Regions from separate parts of the Homo sapiens genome. Here region 2 is linked to region 1. Evidence: promoter capture Hi-C in human tissues and cell types (Jung and others, 2019). All regions are on one chromosome and are shown on one strand. Each heading gives the region's core, a stretch centred on a gene start or on the middle of the fragment in contact. The rest is flanking DNA. Distances are from core to core; before and after follow the strand shown. Region 1 holds the start of STRADA (STE20 related adaptor alpha). Region 2 overlaps MAP3K3 (mitogen-activated protein kinase kinase kinase 3).

Region 1 (4,260 bases), core at 1,092-3,591:
CACCCATTCAGTAGGAATTGGCAATTCAGTAGGAATTGTTTAGAATTGTGTTGTACAAGAATCCAGTGGATTTGGCAGGAAGAGGTGAAACACTGTGCTTTATCATCCCAGGTTCTCATTCCTTACCATTCCTGCCTCCTCTCATTTTGAATGATGTGAAACGATGTAAGAGAGACAAGAGGCCGGGCGCGGTGGCTCATGCCTGTAATCCCAGCACTTTGGGAGGCCGAGGCAGGCAGATCACATGAGGTCAGGAGTTCAAGACCAGCCTGGCCAATATGGCAAATCCCCGTCTCTACTAAAAATACAAAAATTAACCGGGTGCGGTGGCACAAACCTGTAATCCTAGCTACTCAGGAGGCTGAGGCAGGAGAATCGCTTGAACCCAGGAGGCAGAGGTTGCAGTGAACCAAGATTGCACCACTGCACTCCAGCCTGGGCAATAGAGCAAGACTTCCGTCTCAAAAAAAAAAAAAAAAAAAGAGTTATACCCATAGGAGTGTCTTCTGTTACAGACTGCTAAAACAGAACAGTTCTGAGACAATATGTTTTCTCTACCCATTTGTAATGGCTGCAAGAAGTTTAGCATCTTTTCAGACAGTCTCTCTAATACTCGGTTCCAAAAGACCACATGTGAAAGACCCTTCAGTAGAACACTGCTAGAAATTTTACTTCTCTGTTTATACTCTGTTGCTTTGTGAGTTTACCAAGTTTGCTCCTGAGAGTGGCATCTTATTTTGAGAATGAGAGCATGTGAGGGTAGCCCTTAGCAATGTCAAAGCACTCGATAAAATCAAAATGATGTGGCCCAGCACAGATGGCTCACACCTGTAATCCCAGCACTTTGGGAGGCCGAGGCTGGTGGATCACCTGAGGTCAGGATTTTAAGACCAGCCTGACCAATATGGTGAAACCTCGTCTCTACTAAAAATACAAAAATCAGCCAGGCGTTGTGGCGTGCGCCTGTAGTCCCAGCGACTTGGGAGGCTGAGTCAGGAGAATTGCTTGAGCCCAGGAGGCAGAGGTTGCAGTGAGCCCAGATCACGTCACTGCATTCCAGCCTGGGCAACAGAGCAAGACTCCATCTCAAAAAAAAAAAAAAAAAAAATCAAAGTGATGTATGTAAGATCAAATGAGAACTCATGTGCATACAGGTCCCACAGTTTCAGGGGCATATTTCTTTTTTTCTTTTTTTTTTTTTTTTTTTTTGAGACGGAGTCTCGCTCTGTCGCCCAGGCTGGAAGTGCAGTGACGCGATCTCTGCACACTGCAAGCTCCGCCTCCCGGGTTCAGGCCATTCTGCTGCCTCAGCCTCCATAGTAGCTGGGATTACGGGCGCCTGTCACCACGCCCGGCTAATTTTTTTGTACTTTTAGTAGAGACGGGGTTTCGCCGTATTAACCAGGATGGTCTCGATCTCCTGACCTAGTGAACCACCCGCGTCGGCCTCCCAAAGTGCTGGGATTACAGGCGTGAGCCACCGCGCCCGGCCTTCCAGGGGCATATTTCTATAAGTCCCTACTTGGATGTAGCTAAACTCCTCCCCCAGTCTTGGAAGTTAGGACGGTCTAAATCTGTGTCAAAGCTCAGAGCTGGCAAGAGCGAGTGTTCATTACCTGATGGTATATATCCGCGTTTTGGATACCCCCTCCTGCGCACGCGGGGGATAAGTCACTGAAAAACCTAGTCTCACAGGAGTGAGGCTTAGTTCATCGCTTCCTCATTTCTCAAGCTCTGCATAACCTGGCTTGGACAAACCTGATAGGTTTCCACAAACGGCTTCAGCTGTGGATGAGGAAGGCTTCGGGGGAAAAAAAAAGATACTGAGGGGACAAGATCGTTTTCATTAGTTGAGCTATTTTCCTTGTTTTACAAATAGTGGGGAGCAAAGAAAGGATGGGCTTCCCCTTTGCAGCTTGTTGTCTGGTGCCCGAGAGGCCAAAGTGAGGGGCATTTGAGATGTCGTCCAAGAAAAGTGCGAGGCGGGTTTTCCATTAGAAGTCCTACCACATGAAATGAGAAAAACACAATTCTCAGGAACAGCCAAGTTTGCCTTTCTCTGGTCCTTCATTGTTGAAGCCACCTGCTTCCCCCTCCTGCTGCGGGGGCGGAGGCTGTAGGCGGAAGCGCTGCGCGGCGGGAAAGACAACGGGAACTGAGAACCGCTCTCGGCGCGGCGGCGGCTGCTAGGGCCTGCCGCAGCCGCGGCCACTCGGAAAGGGCGGGACTTCCCCGCAGGGCGGGGTGGGGCGGAGCGCTCTATCAGTCCTCCCGGTCGCCCCACTGCGCATGGCACGTTGCGTACTCCCCTCCCAGCAACCGGTCTGGCGGCGGCGCGGCAGTAAAACTGAGGAGGCGGAGCCAAGACGGTCGGGGCTGCTTGCTAACTCCAGGAACAGGTACCTGCCTGGCGGGGTGCCTGGTACGCTGCCGGGGCCAGTCCCTCCTGGCTCTGCCACCGATTCCATCTCCCCAGGCCCGGGCCTTCGTCGGAGCGGCCATCCTGGGCTCACCTCACCCTCCACGGGCCCCCTTTTTAACCCGCGTCCTCGACTCCCGCAATGAGGCGCCGCAGCCCGAGAGCAGAATAGGCTTGGGCCTGGCGGGGAGACGCTGAAGCGGAGTTGCCGGGCGAGAGAGGCGGGCTCCTGCTTTCCCCTTCCTCCCCACCCCCTAGGACTTCCAGGTGGGGAACCTAGGGCTGGGTGCCGGTTTGTCCTGTTCAGGCAGAGTGGCGGCCGACCCCGGTCCTGGGCTCCCCGCTGTCCCCAGCCGCCGCGCACTTTGGGCTGACAGGCAGCGGGTCAAGTCCTCGTAAGGACACAAGATCCAGATGACTCCCAGAATCGGCCTAAACGAAGAGCTCATTGTCTTTTTGTTTTCCAGAAATGTTTTTTGGGTGCCTGCAGGGGATTTGGGCGCCGGAGATGGGGGTTGGGGATAAGGAAGAGAGCTCGAGGGAGGGGCAGTGGGTAGGTAAAATTGTTCATAGTTCTCAGGAAATAGGGAACTAACCTCTCTGCCCAGCCTTCTCCTGTATCCTAACATACTTTAACTTGACTTTCCCGGAGAAAGAGCCGTTGGAATTTGCCCTTTTCTTATTGTAATATCTGTTCAAGTAGAAGCATGTTCCAATACGTATATGCGACGTTAAGACAATTCTTCATTGACACTCATACCTTCCTGAAGACACCCAGGACTGTTTCTTGTCCCTGAGAGTTAAGGAAGAAACCAAATTTGATCACCTGCCAAAAGCCTGTGAATTCAGCCTTTAGTTACAGTGCTGAACTGGTCAAATCTGTCCCCTACTTTTTAATCAGATTTCTTAGAGGTGTTTTGGCTGGAATGCAGTGTTTATAGTTGTGGCCCCAGAAATGGAGGAAGTTTACTCTGGTTTTTAGAGCGCAGGCTTTGGAACAGATTTAATTAGTCCCCTACCACTTATCTGTGTGACTTTGGGCATTTAACCTCCCTGCACACCTGAATTTCCTGATCCGTAAAACAGAGATGATAATACTTGTGAGCTGCTCATGAAGCATTTAGCACAGTGCCTGACACGTAGGAAGTTTGCCATAAATGTTTGCTGGGTTTATTATTTTCTCTCTTTATTTTTATTTTAATTTTTTTGAGATGGAGTTTCGCCCTCGTCCCCCAGGCTGGAATGCAATGGCGCGATCTCCGCTCACTGCAACCTCGGCCTCCTTGGTACAAGCAGTTATCCTGCCTCAGCCTTCCGAGTAGCTGGCATTACAGGCACCCCCCACCACACCTGGTTAATTTTTGTATTTTCAGTAGAGACGGGGTTTCACCATGTTGGTCAGGCCGATCTCTGAGGTCCTGACCTCAGGTGATCCACCAGCCTCGACCTCCCAAAGTGCTGGGATTACAGGCGTGAGCCACCGCGCCCGGCCAATAAAGCTATTTCTATGTCTGTCCACTAGTAATATTGCTTTGTTGTGTGTGTGTGTGTGTGTGTGTGTGTGTGTGTGTGTATATATATATATGTATGTGTATATATATATGTATGTATGTATATATATATATATATATATAGTGTTAAATGTTTCTGATAGGCTGGGTACCGTGGCCCACCTCTGTAATCCCAGCACTTTGAGAGACTGAGGCAGTAGGATTGCTTGAGCTCCGGAGTTTGAAACCAGGAACAGGTACCTGCCTGGCGGGGTGCCTGGTGCACTGCCGGAGCCAGTCACTCCTCGCTCTGCCACCGATTCCATCTCCCCAGGCCCGGGCCTTCGTCGG
Region 2 (4,563 bases), core at 726-3,225, 110 kb after region 1:
GTAACAACAACAAAAGCAGCTTTTTAAACTAATCCTTCTGTTTTAACATGAAACAAAAGGACTCCTCTTCCCTTGGGGTCCCTAGGATTCCTAAAGGCAGGAAATACTCTGGAAGGCTCTATCTAGCAGACCACAGACAGGAAAAGTTTTAGGGCCTTATACTATCTCTAGGAACCAATTCTGAAGAATTGGTAAACAAGGTGCAAATGAGAAGAAAGGAGGTTAGCTGATAACAAACAGAACCAAAAGGGAGAATGTCATACACAAATTTTCATCAAACATGCCCAATATAGCTAGCTGACACAGCACTGGATACCCACTAGGTAGGAAAGCTCCCCATCATTCACTCCTCTCTGCAGAACAAAGTACCCAGGAAACAGGTAAGTGGCACTACAGGTGAGAAGAAGATTGTCAATGACACACAAGTTTAAATGTTAAGGAAAATAGGCAATGTTTTCCTAAAGAAGCATACAACTCTCAATAAAACAGGCACTATCAATAAGGTTAATAAGGTAAAATAACTGTAAACAGTAATAACAAAATCACTCATTATTGCCTTCAGAATATACTAGGTGACATTTTAATTAATAAATTTACCTTCTTAATTATATTTTACATAAGCTAATACCAAATTAATTAGTTTTTCCTGACTATATACTGTAAGGTAGCTAAAAACCTTCTGACTTAGGGATCATGAATCTGAATTAAATATTTGCCAAATATCAGTAAAGGGGAAAAACGAATATGAATACTGTCCCCATAACAGATGAAATGCTTACACAAGGCTTTAAGACTCCAAATCATAGATCCATAACTGCATGGCATATATAACTTTTTTTTTTTTTTTGAGACAGAGTTTCACTCTGTCTTGCCCAGGCTGGAGTGCAGTGGTGCTATCTCGGCTCACTGCAGCCTTTGCCTTCCAGGTTCAAGCGATTCTCCTGTCTCAGCTTCCTGAGTAGCTGGGACTACAGGCATGGACCACCACACCTGGCTAATTTTGTGTTTTTTAGTAGGGACAGGGTTTCACCATGTTGGCCAGGCTGGTCTCAAACTACTGACTTCAGGTGATCCGCCTGCCTCGGCCTCCCAATATCACTTACCATTTAACCATACCTGGTTGGTATGTATTACTTCCCATTTAACAGACTGTGAAAGGAAGGGGTCAAAAGCATTCAACCCTGGTAATGTAGTCTCCTTGGCTTTTCGTATATTTCCCATTTGAAAACCCCTCCCCAACAAATCTCACTTAGCTCTGCCAGGGTCACACACACCTGCCTATTTGAGTGACCTGTGTCTTTGTTCTTCATGGTCTCATATCCAGGCATCCGGTGACGTCGGTTCATCTGGAGGGCCACCAGATCGTTCATGATTGAGTTCAATGCCTCCTGTTCGTCTGCAATGAAAGAGAGCACATGGACTAAGACACTTAAATACAGACCAGCAAAGCTCTTTCACAAACTGTATAACTAATACTCAGGGAGTTCTGCCCAGGTAAAATGACAGACCCTGTAACTATAATCAGATGCAGCCCAAAAGGTCAGACTATGGCAATTTGAATTTTAATGGATTCTTTTTTTTCTTCGAGACAAGGTCTTGCTCTGTCACTCAGGCTGGAGTGCAGTGGCGTGATCATAGCTCACTGCAGCCTCCAACTCTGGGGCTCAAGTGACCTTCCCACATCAGCCTCCTGAGTAGCTGGGAACACAGGCATGCACCACCATGCCTGGATGATTTTTTTATTTTTTGTAGAGACGGGGTCTCCCCATGTTGCCCAGGCTGGTCTCCAACTCCTGGACTCCAGTGATCCTCCTGCCTCGGCCTCCCAAAGTGCTAAGATTACATACAGGTGTGGGCCACCATGCCTGGCCTTTAATGGTTTCTTAATAGCCCTCCAATCAGATTTCCTGCAGCAATATTTACCAATTCATTGCAGGGAAGGGACACGCTCAAACAGGGCAGTTGGTCCAGTGCCAGAGAAACTTAACCAGGAAAAATAGATGAAAAATTGAAGTGAAGAACACAGTACAATGTAATATGGTACTGAATGAAAAGATGAATCCATAGAGAGAGGATTATGGCACAGTGTCAGTCCCAGACTTATTCTTAAAGCATCATAAGGAGGAGAGCACACTTTAAAAGGTACCAAATAAGGGCCTCAGGTAACTGCTTTGAACAGAAGTTGTTTTACAAGCCTAGCATTTGAATGCCGCCACCACCAGCAACCCCCACAACTCTTTACAAGTTTATAGGCCTACTACTTCCCATGGGGAAGTCAAAGGGTAGTTCTATTGTTTTTCCTCCCTAAGCTGACCAAGCAATGCATTGTCTCCACCTTACTGGCATTACTTTTAATCCCCTTTTCTTGAAATAGCATGGAGTACTAGAGTTCTCATACATTGAAAACAACTGGCCAAAACCCAGAACACAAACCAGTCCAATTCCATGTTGTACAAATTTTTCCCAGGTCCTTTAAGAGATCTTTGCCCATTCAAATAGCATTTGGAGATTGAAAATGAATAAATCTGTTGATCGTGAAGGGAACATGAGGGATGAGTTGTTACACTTGCTTTGGTGACAACTGAGCCATTTGGGGACTTGGGGCACACCTTAAAAGAAGCAAATACAAAAGATTCCACCCAAAGAGAGTGCCTATCTTCTACCCTTTATCACTGTCCCTTGGAAATATTCTAATACCCTGTGGAAAGAAACGAACAGCATGAAATGTAGGAAGTAAAACTGCTCAAGTCTCTTCTCCCACTACTGATTAACTGATTGACTGACTGACTGAAACAGGGTTTCACTCTGTTGCCCAGGCTAGAGTGCAGTGGTGCAATCACAGCTCACTGCAGCCTCCTCCACCCCCAGGCTCAAACAATCCTCCACCTCAGCCTCCAGAGTAGCTGGGACTACAGGTGCACACCACCATGCCCTGCTAATTTTTGTATTTTTTATTGAGCGAGGGTTTCACCATGTTGCCCAGGCTGATTTCAAACACCTGAGCTCAAGCGATCCTCCCTCCTTAGCCTCCCAAAATGCTGGGATTACAGACATAAGCCACCGTGCCTGGCCCCTCACCTTATTTGCCTCTCCCCTCTTCCTAGACGAAATCTGCTCTGGTGCCCTATATGCCCTCTGACGAGGTACAGAAAAGGACAAAGTTGCCTATAAAGAGGTTTTTGCTTGTTCAGGAAAGTAAAATTAGATTTAAAACTTGCAGGAAAACCACCAGGAGCATAACTTCCCATATGATTCCACTTCAAAACATATACAAAAGTATGTATGAGAGTGACATAGCTGTAATATAGAAAGCATGCAGTAAAGGGGATAATGAATGAGGAGAAAGTGGGTATCTACAAAAAGACATCTGTCAAATTAACACATATATATCCCATCAATTATTTTATACCTTCTACAATTTCCCTATAGCTTCTTTAAAGAAGGGAACCTGGCTGGACAGGGTGGCTCATGCCTGTAATCCCAGCACTTTGGGAGGCTGAGGCAGGTGGATTGCTTGAGCCCAGGAGTTCGAGACCAGACTGGGCAACATGGCAAAACTACATTCTACAAAAAATACAAAAAATTAGCTGGGCATGGTGGTGCACGCTGTAGGCTCAGCTACTTGAGAGGCTTAGGTGGAAGGATCACTTGAGCCCAGGAGGTTGAGGCTGCAGTGAGCCATGATCATGCCACTGTACTTCAGCCTGGGCGACAGTGAGACCCTGTCCCAAAAACAAAAAGGGAACTTGGTTTTTTGTTTTGATTTTTATCCTCACAACCAAACTTTAAAAACTAGAGCATAACATCTAAGCTAGGAAGATTGGCTTATATATAATATGTATAGGTTTATATATTAAATGGCTTAGATATTATTAAATATATATAAAATTGGGCCAACTGTAATAATAAATTGGGATCAATACAAGGAGGATTATGACTAGGTTTAAGTGTTTTCTGAGGAGCATCCAACAATACTCCTAAAAGCGGAATGCAAGGAGTTATCAGTAACAACATTAACCACCCTAAGTATTGAGAATTTTCAGTTCTTTCAACTCAGATATTGAACAAAGATGGATGTGAATACACATACAGGCACACACATACACACACCACTTTTCAAGTCAGATCCACAAGTATGACTGAAGAAATCATTTCTAATTCTGTATAAGATGACGCTATTATAAGAGCTGGTTTATCAGGTTGACAAATTCTGTTTCCAGGAAGCTAACCAATTCCTGGCATTACTTAATGAACAAACTTGTTTAGTAGTTCCAGAGCTGAGAACACACTAGTGGAAAAGTTTGGCACTGTCATCTGAAATCTGGGACAACTGACACAAGTGAATCAGGGTTATAGAATCTAATTTTGTGTCAAAGTAAAATACATTCCTAGAGGTAGACAGGTTCTTCAACTGATACTTCAGAGGACATGTATAAAGACAGGAAGTAAATCAAGTGGCTCTTTTAGGCATTTCTTCCTGGATTGAGGTTTTGTTTTTGTTTTTTTTCCTTCTAAAAAGCAACATCACTATGCACACTTGGCTGCCACAAGCCAGTTATCTCT

The links. Contacts are between HindIII fragments. The study calls those that stand out against the background at their distance.
Region 2: a contact is called between a fragment that was not itself captured here and the fragment with the promoter of STRADA in region 1, in 3 of the 25 tissues and cell types used here (dorsolateral prefrontal cortex, mesenchymal stem cells and thymus).

The regions. Positions count from the first base shown.
Region 1 is chr17:63,739,880-63,744,139 of GRCh38, reverse strand. STRADA (STE20 related adaptor alpha) reads left to right here and starts at 2,341. Exons shown (of 13, transcript NM_001003787.4): 1 at 2,341-2,399. RefSeq lists silencers at 2,059-2,178, 3,682-3,850 and an enhancer at 3,716-4,215. The HindIII fragment of the contact is 12,282 bases long and covers 1-4,260 here.
Region 2 is chr17:63,629,514-63,634,076 of GRCh38, reverse strand. It overlaps MAP3K3 (mitogen-activated protein kinase kinase kinase 3), which reads right to left. Exons shown (of 16, transcript NM_002401.5): 2 at 1,275-1,396. Among named protein-coding and RNA genes, the nearest start is that of MAP3K3, 9.4 kb to the right of the region's middle. The HindIII fragment of the contact is 6,236 bases long and covers 1-4,563 here.